Linked DNA regions of Homo sapiens: region 2 is linked to region 1. Evidence: promoter capture Hi-C in human tissues and cell types (Jung and others, 2019). All regions are on one chromosome and are shown on one strand. Each heading gives the region's core, a stretch centred on a gene start or on the middle of the fragment in contact. The rest is flanking DNA. Distances are from core to core; before and after follow the strand shown.

Evidence for each region. Contacts are between HindIII fragments. The study calls those that stand out against the background at their distance.
Region 2: a fragment that was not itself captured here is called in contact with the fragment with the promoter of HS3ST4 in region 1 in 1 of the 25 tissues and cell types used here (dorsolateral prefrontal cortex).

The regions. Positions count from the first base shown.
Region 1 is chr16:25,689,532-25,694,030 of GRCh38, forward strand. It overlaps HS3ST4 (heparan sulfate-glucosamine 3-sulfotransferase 4), which reads left to right and starts at 2,428. Exons shown (of 2, transcript NM_006040.3): 1 at 2,428-3,620. The coding sequence starts at 2,887. RefSeq lists enhancers at 3,172-3,672, 3,673-4,173. The HindIII fragment of the contact is 9,278 bases long and covers 1-4,499 here.
Region 2 is chr16:27,113,572-27,118,488 of GRCh38, forward strand. No RefSeq gene overlaps it. Among named protein-coding and RNA genes, the nearest start is that of C16orf82, 49 kb to the left of the region's middle. The HindIII fragment of the contact is 3,082 bases long and covers 2,028-4,917 here.

The DNA.
Region 1 (4,499 bases), core at 1,178-3,677:
GGGAAATGAGGCAGAGTGAGGCCAGGAGACCAGTTAGAGGAATTCTGTGGGTGTTGGCAGGGGAGACAGAAAACTATCTTCCATCGAGTCTTCGGATCCATTGGGAATGCCTGGATGACGTCAGAGTTCGCCCTGTGTAGGTAGCTCCCACTTTTCATTGTAGGTTTCTCAAGGACTTGCTCCTAGAAAAAGCGTGGCTCAAAAGTAGATAAAAAATAGGCAACTGCCTAAGTGTGAAATTTACAAAGTTCCTCTCCAAAAAAGCCCGCCTCCTCCCTATCACTTGTGGGCCTGACATTTTACCAAAGGGGCTCTATTCTTTCAAGAGTTTGTTATTAAAGCGTGACTATTTGAGGATTGGAGGCAAAAGGGATACTGAGAAATGTCCTTACTAGCAGTGTCAAGGCAAGTGACATAAATGTGTGGGGGGGCAACTTGTATGAGCACTGTGAAAACGGCAGCATGTTCACTCTACTTCTCAGCTCTGACTGAGGGGCTCAAAGTTCAGGATCTGCTGATTTTTCAACAGTAACGTCCTCTCCAAGGTGTTTTTTTTTTTTCCTTTTTTGGGAAAGCCCCCAGTTTAAACTATTGCAGCCAGTTTACATTTCTTAATGTCACTGTGCTGGCCACATTCAGAGCTCCATTTGCCACCATCGGTTTTGATACCTTTTTACCAAAACCTTTCGAAATTTGAGAGCCCATCTTTAGTAAAACTGGGCATGGAGCAGATTCGTTTGGATTGCTGAGAGGGGAGATAGAAAAGTTTGGGTGCTAGGCAGGAACTGCAAGGAGGACCTGGGCCATATGCCAGACATCTAGTGCCTGGGCCTTGAAAGGGAGACTGGTCGCTGACAAGGCAATATCTGTTGCAACCCAGGCTTCCTAGATGACCACCTTGGATCATGGCTCGGAGCACAGGGAGGGCTGGGCAGTGCTTGTGTTTCTCTCCGTTCCAGTTGGCCCCTTCCCATTGACATTACAGTAATGCAGTTGTGTGCTGTTTGAAAAAGCATCCCTAGTTACACAGAATGATTTACAGGACACCAGACTCTGCATTTCAGAGGTCTCCAGTGTACCATAAAAAATATATTATAAAAGAATAATCTTTATCTGAACTAAAGCTGCAGTGAAGGAAACTCGTGTCCAGCTGAGAGCAGCAGTGAGCTTTTGTTCACTCAGGGAAAAGTCCGTGTTCTTTATCTTATTTGATTAACATTTTTTTTCTCTTTGGCACTAGGTATCTCGTTAATATTTAGACATTATATACATTTTCTTTCAACTGGTTTTCCTATTACGTGATCAAACAAAACCAGAGATGCCAGCCACAGCAGCCAACAAGGGAAAAGCAGCCCCGTCAGGCACCCAGCTGTGGCTGGGGGGCAAATGGTACTCACTAGAGCCACCCCCAGGAGGCACCTGGCAGAGCTCTGTGCAGAGCCAGCCCCGGTTGCAGAAAGCTGAGTTTGTTGGAGTGCCTCAGTTGATCACTCTGTCTCTTTCTCCCATTTCCCTCACTTCCCTGAGCAAAATGCAACAGGAAGCAAAGTCTAGTTGTGAATCTTCCAAAGCCTTCTGATGTTTACCATGTTCCCCCAGGAGAGGGAGGTGAGGGGTGGAGATCTCTCTGCAAAGAAAATACACTTAAAAAATTTCAGCGAGCCGATGCACAGACACCCAGCAACCCAGCTTGTCTCCGCTTATTAGGTGTTCAGAGCGACAGTGGTCCCACACTATTTCAGTCCAGGAAACCATGAACTCCGTTAGTGGCAATGCCCCCGAAGAGGCGCAGGTGTGTGCACCTGTGATTAAGGGTGTCGAGGAGGGGCAGCCTCATCTCTTGAAGCAGAAAGTGTTGTCACCTGGTGATGGGACAGAGGGAAAAGCTCTGGGGCTGGGAAACCTGGGGGCTTGTGTCAAAGCTCCACCCATCAGGAGCTTCAAGAGAAGATGGGGGGCGGGGGGCGGTGGCTGGAAAGATGGAAGTTGGGATGGGAAAGCGGTTGTAGAAAAGGATTCACTCCTGGACCGAAGGCAGGAGGATATCCCGGGCGAGAGAAGGGAGGGTCGGGGATGGGCTGAGTTGGAGTCCCAGAGGAAAAGCGGAAGCGAGAGCTTCGTCACCCGCTGTCTTCCAGCTCCCGGTGCGCGGCACCGGAGGCAGGCGTTGGGCTTTACCTCTCTAAAAGTACTGGGGCAAAGGAATGGAGAACACGGCGTCCCGAGCTCCCAAGGGAGGGGAGTAAACGAGGTGGGGTGGGGAACACCCCAAGTGCGTGCGTGCTGGGGGCTGGGGGGCACGATCTCCGTTCTCCCGGGTGCCCCAGCCCTAGCGCACGCCTCCGCTCCCCCGCCCCCTTCGCAGGCGCGCGCGAGGCGCACCCCCCTTCCCTCGGCGGCGCCGGGCGCGCGCCCGGCCCCCTCCTCCTCCCCTCCGCGCCTCTCCTCTCTCCCGGCAGAAAGTTAGCAGCGGGGAAGGAACTCCGGGCTGCAACAGCGCGCGGCGGCGGCGGCAGAGGCTGAAGCAGAAGCCGCGGCGGAGCCGGGGAAGCGGGGGCGCTGCAGACGGAGCAGGTGCCGCCGGCGGGTCCGCGCGCCCCCCTCGGTCCCCTTGCCTGAGGCTGAGGGGGGGGCGGTGGTGGGGGGGCCACCCGGACTCGGCGGGCAGCGTGGGGCGGGGGGCCATGCGGCCGGGCTCCCCCCTGGCGCAGCGGGACAGCGGCCAGGGCCGGGGGCGCAGCGGCGTCGCTTCATGCAGCCGGGGCGGCTGGGCAGCGGCGGCGGCGGCGGCGGCGGCGGCGGCGGCGGGGGCGGCGGCTGAAACCATGTCCGGGCAGCGCCGGGGGCTGCCGCCGCCGCCGCCGCCGCCGCGAGCCGGGAGCCGCGATGGCCCGGTGGCCCGCACCTCCTCCGCCTCCGCCTCCGCCTCCACCTCTGGCCGCGCCGCCGCCGCCCGGCGCCTCTGCTAAGGGGCCGCCGGCGCGCAAGCTGCTTTTTATGTGCACCTTGTCCCTGTCTGTCACCTACCTGTGCTACAGCCTCCTGGGCGGCTCGGGCTCCCTGCAATTCCCTCTGGCGCTGCAGGAGTCGCCGGGCGCCGCCGCCGAGCCCCCGCCGAGCCCGCCGCCACCCTCTCTGCTGCCTACCCCCGTGCGCCTCGGCGCCCCCTCGCAGCCGCCCGCGCCGCCGCCGCTGGACAACGCGAGCCACGGGGAGCCGCCCGAGCCCCCAGAGCAGCCAGCCGCCCCCGGGACCGACGGCTGGGGGCTGCCGAGCGGCGGCGGAGGCGCCCAGGACGCCTGGCTCCGGACCCCGCTGGCCCCCAGCGAGATGATCACGGCTCAGAGCGCGCTGCCGGAGAGGGAAGCGCAGGAGTCCAGCACCACCGACGAGGATCTCGCAGGCCGGAGAGCGGCCAACGGGAGCAGCGAGAGGGGCGGCGCCGTCAGCACCCCCGACTATGGGGAGAAGAAGCTGCCACAGGCGCTCATCATCGGGGTCAAGAAAGGAGGGACCCGCGCGCTGCTGGAGGCGATCCGCGTGCACCCGGACGTGCGGGCGGTGGGCGTAGAGCCGCACTTCTTCGACAGGAACTACGAAAAGGGGTTGGAGTGGTACAGGTAGGACCCTGGGCTCCGCGGGCTGGTGGAGACGCGTGGGGGAGACGCGGAGGGGAAGCCGCGGCTTTCCACGCCCTTCGAGCATCCAGGCACCGTCCCGAGAGGCCCAAGCCCCCGCGAGGGCTCTGCAAACCCTGGCGGCGTTGCTCAGGGGGATCGGCTGAGAGGGCTGGACTCCAGCGAAAGGTCACTTTATTTCAGGGCGAGGGGAGGAGGTGTCACCCTGCCCTGCCTCCCGCGCTCCTCATCCAAGGAGGTGCTGTCTGAATCTGCCCAGCTCCAAGCCTGGGAACCCCCAGCCCTCCTGCCTGCTGGGTGTTTCCGAAACCAGGCTCTTGCGGGGTTCTGGGATTCTGGGCAGAGGACTTTGAGGAGTGAGACAGGATGGCTAAATTGACTAAGGGGATTTGAGGTCCCCTGGAATCTCTTAAAATCACCCTCAAACGCATTTGCGTGGCTGGAATTCAACTTTAGTGTGTTAAGGTCAGAGCAAAATGAATAGGGAACAGTTACAAAGATCATGCTGGCGTTTTGGCTTTCTAGTAAAGAAAGGATGCCTCCCACCTCCGTAACTTTCCATCCCCCTTGGCTGAATGAGCACGGAGTTGATTTTGCACCAGAAGCCTCAATGTCTGCATGACAGTTGGTGCCCTGAGAGTTTTTATGCCTCAGACCGTGCCCTGTCTAATCTCCGCCTCCTTCGCAACAGATTGGAGCTTCTGTCTTGTGAGATGTTCATCTCCCTCCTTTCCCACCGTCTGCCGGTGGTGAGAGAAAGGTAGGAGAGAGGACTAGAAAGTTAAGTGCAGGTAAAATAAATTAATAATCCAGCTTTCCTGCCAGCCATAACATTTTAAACGGCACTGGTGCAGATGCCCC
Region 2 (4,917 bases), core at 2,319-4,818, 1.4 Mb after region 1:
CTGCCATCTGGCTCCTGATTGACTTCAACCAATAGGAGTAAGAGGTGAAGCAGGAGGTCAGCGAGCAGGAGGAGAGAGAGGTGGGGTATTACTCCCCGGCTTCCTCTCTGCTTGGCCATGGGTGACAGCAGCTGGGTCCCTTGGGTGAGAGCTGTGGGCCACCTCCTACAGCTACCGCTCTGGCTGGGTTCCCCTAACTAACAGGGCCTTCCTGGCCCATTTAGGACTGAAGATGGTAACAAGTGCCCCACTGCTGCTGGTCCCAAAGTCCTTTGTTACCTCTTTTCAGTTTCTCTCAACCTGATCCACACCTCCATAAAGAGGGAGGCTGAGGCAAGAGGATCACCTGAGCCTAGGAGGTCGAGGCTGCAGTGAGCCGTGATCGCACCACTGCACTCCAGCCTGGGCAACAGAGTGAGACCCTGTCTCAAAAAAAACAAAAAGAGTCCTTTCATTCTTTCACTAAACTTTCACCAATGACCCCACCCCTTGAGTGTGCTGTCTGTATCCTGCCTGCACGGTAACTGGCAATAAGACCCTCATGCTCTAGCCCCTGCCCAGCTCCCAACCCCCTCACACAACTCTTCCAGCTCCTTTGCTATGCTCTGGCCATACCTGGCTCCTTTCTGTCCCTCAGCTGCACCAAGCCTGTGGCCTCGTTAGTGCCACATATTTTCTGTTCCATCTACCTTGGGACACTGTTCCCAGATCTTTATGCAGCTGGTCTCAGCCCAAATGTCACTCTTCAGGGAGGCTTTCCCTGACCACCTGTCACACACACTCATCCATATCCTTCACTTGACTGATAACCAATCCAGAATTAACCTCTTCAGTTCTTTGTGGGTTTGTTTCTGTTTATACCTATAGCAATGTTGATTCTGGCCAAGCATCATGGTGGCTCACATCTATAATCCCAGTGCTTCGGGAGGCTTAGGCAGAAGGATTGCTTGAGCCCAGGAGTTTGAGACCAGTCTGGGCAATATAGCACAACCCCATCTCTACAACAATACAAAAAAAAAAAAAAAAGATTAGCCAGGCATGGTGGTGTGTGCCTGTAGTCCCAGCTGCATGGGAGGTTGAGGTGGGAGGATTGTTTGAGCCCAGGAGCTGGAGGCTACAGTGAGCTATGATCTCACCACTGTATTCCCAGCCTGGGTAACAGAGTGAGATCTTGTCTTTTGAAAAAAAAAGAGTTACTTACACAAGGGCAGTCTTTTTTTCCACTAGTCTTTTTGTTCACTGCTGTAGTCCTGGCAGTAGTGAACATAAGGGGTCTTGATAAATATTTGTGGAATTAAAAAAAGCTTTATGTTCACTCTGGAGAGAGTGAGGACACTCACTCTGGAACCCCTGAAGGCAGAGGGTGCCCTGGGGTCTCTTTTCCAGGTTATGATCAGGCCTTTCTTGCCTCAAATCTCTCCACATCACCTCTCAGGGTCCACAAATTCTCGCACTTCAGTAACATCCCCAGTTGTGCTTCCTGAGAAGTAGCTGGGTGCTGATGAAAGAGCTTTGGCACAGGGCTCAGACACACCTGGGTTTCACTCCTGGCTCTGCTATGCCCATTGCCTCTCTGGCCCTCAGTTCCGCCATCTATTAAAAAGGAAACCCAAATGGAACCCAACATACTGGGGTCGTGGAAAGGAGCAATGAGACCCAGGCACGTAAGGCAGCCAGCACTGCCCTGCCCCATGCCAGGGATTTGAAGAGCAGCAAAGAGAATGAGATGCTGAAGGGTCCCTGGGAAAGGGTCCCGGGTCTTCCCCACCCAGGCTGAAGCCCAATCAGGAGAGGAAGGTGGACCTGTGAAGGTAGGGGCGGTGCCTAGACTAATGTAGCTGGGAGAGGCTTCCAGAGCTCTCCATGCACAAGCTGGTGTGGAGCAGTGCAGGAGTCCCAGGCGTGTAAGAGCAATGTGGACGTGGTGAAGGACTCAGGAGGGTTCAGAAAAATTCAGTAATTGTCTGGGCGTGGTGGTTCATGCCTGTAATCCCAACATTTTGGGAGGCTGAGGCAGGTGGATCACCTGAGGTCAGGAGTTTGAGACCAGCCTGGCTAATGTGGTGAAACCCCCTCTCCACTAAAAAGACAAAAATTAGCTGGGCATGGTGGCGCATCCCTGTAATCCCGGCTATTCAGGAGGCTGCGGCAGGAGAATCACTTGAACCTGGGAGGTGGAGGTTGCAGTGAGCCGAGATGATGCCACTGCACTCCAGCCTAGGCGATAGAGTGAGACTCCGCCTCAAAAAAAACAAGAAAAAAAAAAAGGAAGAAAAGAAAAAGAAAAGGAAAGAAAAGCTCAGTAACTTCCCAGTGCATCTCATTGAACTTAGCATGGGCACCCACCTGATCTCAATGCACCCAGGAGTTGGCATTCGAGGGCAGCAAGGAGCATCCCTCAGACTTGGATGCAGTTATACACAGCGCCACAGCAGCACGCATGGCCTGACGTCAAAGACTGGCTGAGAATCTCAGAAAATCATGGATGTCCCCTCCCCAACACCCTGACCTCCGCCCCTGCCGAACTTAGGGGTAACCCCAAGGAATGTAAGGAAACCTAAATTGATTGGAAGAATGGACACAAATTAAACATGGTTATGAACTTTGTTAGTCCATTTTGCATTGCTGTAAAGGAATACCTGAGGCTGGGTAATTTATTAAAAGAAAGGAGGTTTATTTGGCTCAAGGTTCTGCAGGCTGTGCAAGCATGGTGCCAGCATCTGCTCAGTTTCTGGTGAGGCCTCAGGAAGCTTTTAATCATGGCAGAGAGGAAGAGGAGCCAACGTGTCACATGATGAGAGGGAGCAAGAGAGACATGGGAGGTCCTAGACTCTATTCTTCCTTTAATTTTTCAACTTTTGTGGGTACATAGTAGTGTATATATTTATGGGGTACATGAGAGATTTTGATACAGGCAGGCAATGCATAATAATCCTATCAAGGTAAACGGGGGATCCATCATTGGAAGCATTTATCCTTTGTGTTACAAACAAGCCAATTACACTCTTTTAGTTATTTATAAATGTGTAATTAAATTATTATTGACCATAGTCACACTGTTGTGCTATCAAATCTATCAAATACTAGGTCTAATTCTCCTTTTTTTTTTTTTTTTTTTTTTTTTTTGAGATGAAGTCTCGCTCTGTTGCCCAGGCTGGAATGCAGTGGCATGACCTCAGCTCACTACAACCTCCTCCTCCCAGGTTCAAGTGATTCTCCTGCATCAGCCTCCTGAGTAGCTGGAGCTACAGGCACCCACCACCACACCTGGCTAATTTTTGTATTTTTAGTGGAGATGGGGTTTCACTATGTTGGCAAGGCTGGTCTTGAATTCCTGACCTCAAGTGATCCACCCGCCTTGGCCTCCCAAAGTGCTGGGATTACAGCCATGAGCCACTGCACCTGGCCCTTATTCATTCTTTCTAACTATTTTTGTACTCATTAGCCTTCCCAACTCCTCCCCGCCACCAACCGGCACCCCCCACTACCCTTCGCAGCCTCTGGTCACCATCTTTCCCAGGCTCTAAATTTTTAACGGCCAGATCTCACATGAATAGAATGAGAACTCACTCATTACCACCAGGAGGGCACCAAGACATTCATGAGGGATCTGCCCCCATTTCCCACTAGGCACCACCTTTAACATTGGGAATCACATTTCAACATGAGATTTGGAGGAGACAAACATCCCAACCATAGTGTGAAGTGAATGAATAAAGAGAGTGATATTTCCCATGCACCTGAGATGTGGACTGACATTTCTACCACATGGTACGTTGCCAGAATCCTCCATTGGGTGTGTGTGTGTCTTGCGACTTGAATGAGCCTGAGAAGCCTTGAGACTTCTTCCTGGGCCTCGGAAGGGCTGTCCTTATCAGGGACAGCTATTCTGCAAGAACTCTGCATGGGGAAGAGTAGAAATGACTGGGGGTGTAAATGTTGTCTGATTAATCACAAGAGAAAGTGCCTCTTAGATGGAGCTGCCCAGTGATGGAAAGGACTACCATGAAAGGAAGCGAGTTTCCTATTCCTGCAGGTATGCAAGTGACACTGTCAGAGGTGTGGAGAAGTAACTCCTACCTGTGGAGTTTGCCTGACTAAAATAACACTGAGGCCCCTCTGAAGCTTTATAGGCTCTGAGTCTTCCAGCAGAGCCCAGAGTGATGTTGGGTAATCAGAGACGGAATTAGCTGAATGCATGGGGAGGGGAGGAGGAAGAGAGAAGGAAGAAGAATAGGAAACAGTAAGGGAGGAGAGTAGGAGAAAGGAAATAAGGGTCCCAACTGAGAAGGCCCAACATTAGTCAAAAGTTTTTCAAAGAAAGGCCGGGCGTGGTGGTTCACGCCTGTAATCTCAGCACTTTGGGAAGCTGAGGCGGGCAAATCACTTGAGGTCAGGAGTTCGAGACCAGCATGGTCAACATGGCAAAACTCCATTTCTACCAAAAATACAAAAGTTAGGCGGGCATGGTGGCGTGCACCTGTAATCCCAGCTACTTGAGAGGCTGAGGCAGGAGAATTGCTTGAACCCAGAGGGCAGAGGTTGCAGTGAGCTGAGATAGCACCACTGCACTCCAGCCTGGGCAAGAGAATGAGACTCCATTTCAAAAAAAAAAAAAAAAAAAAAAGTTTTTCAAAGATAATATTTCCCAAGTGGGGGCCACATGTTCACAACAGTCAGAATAGCTTAAACCAAGCTTGTCCAGCCTGCAGCCTGCAGGCCACATGCAGCCCAGAATGGCTTTGAATGTGGCCCAACACAAATTCAAAAACTTTCATAAAACATTATGAGATTTATGCATGGCGCTTTTTTTTTTTTTTTAGCTTATCAGCCATCATTAGTGTTAGTGTATTTTATGTGTGGCCCAAGACAGTTCTTCCAATGTGGCCCAGGGAAGCCAAAAGATTGGGTGCCCCT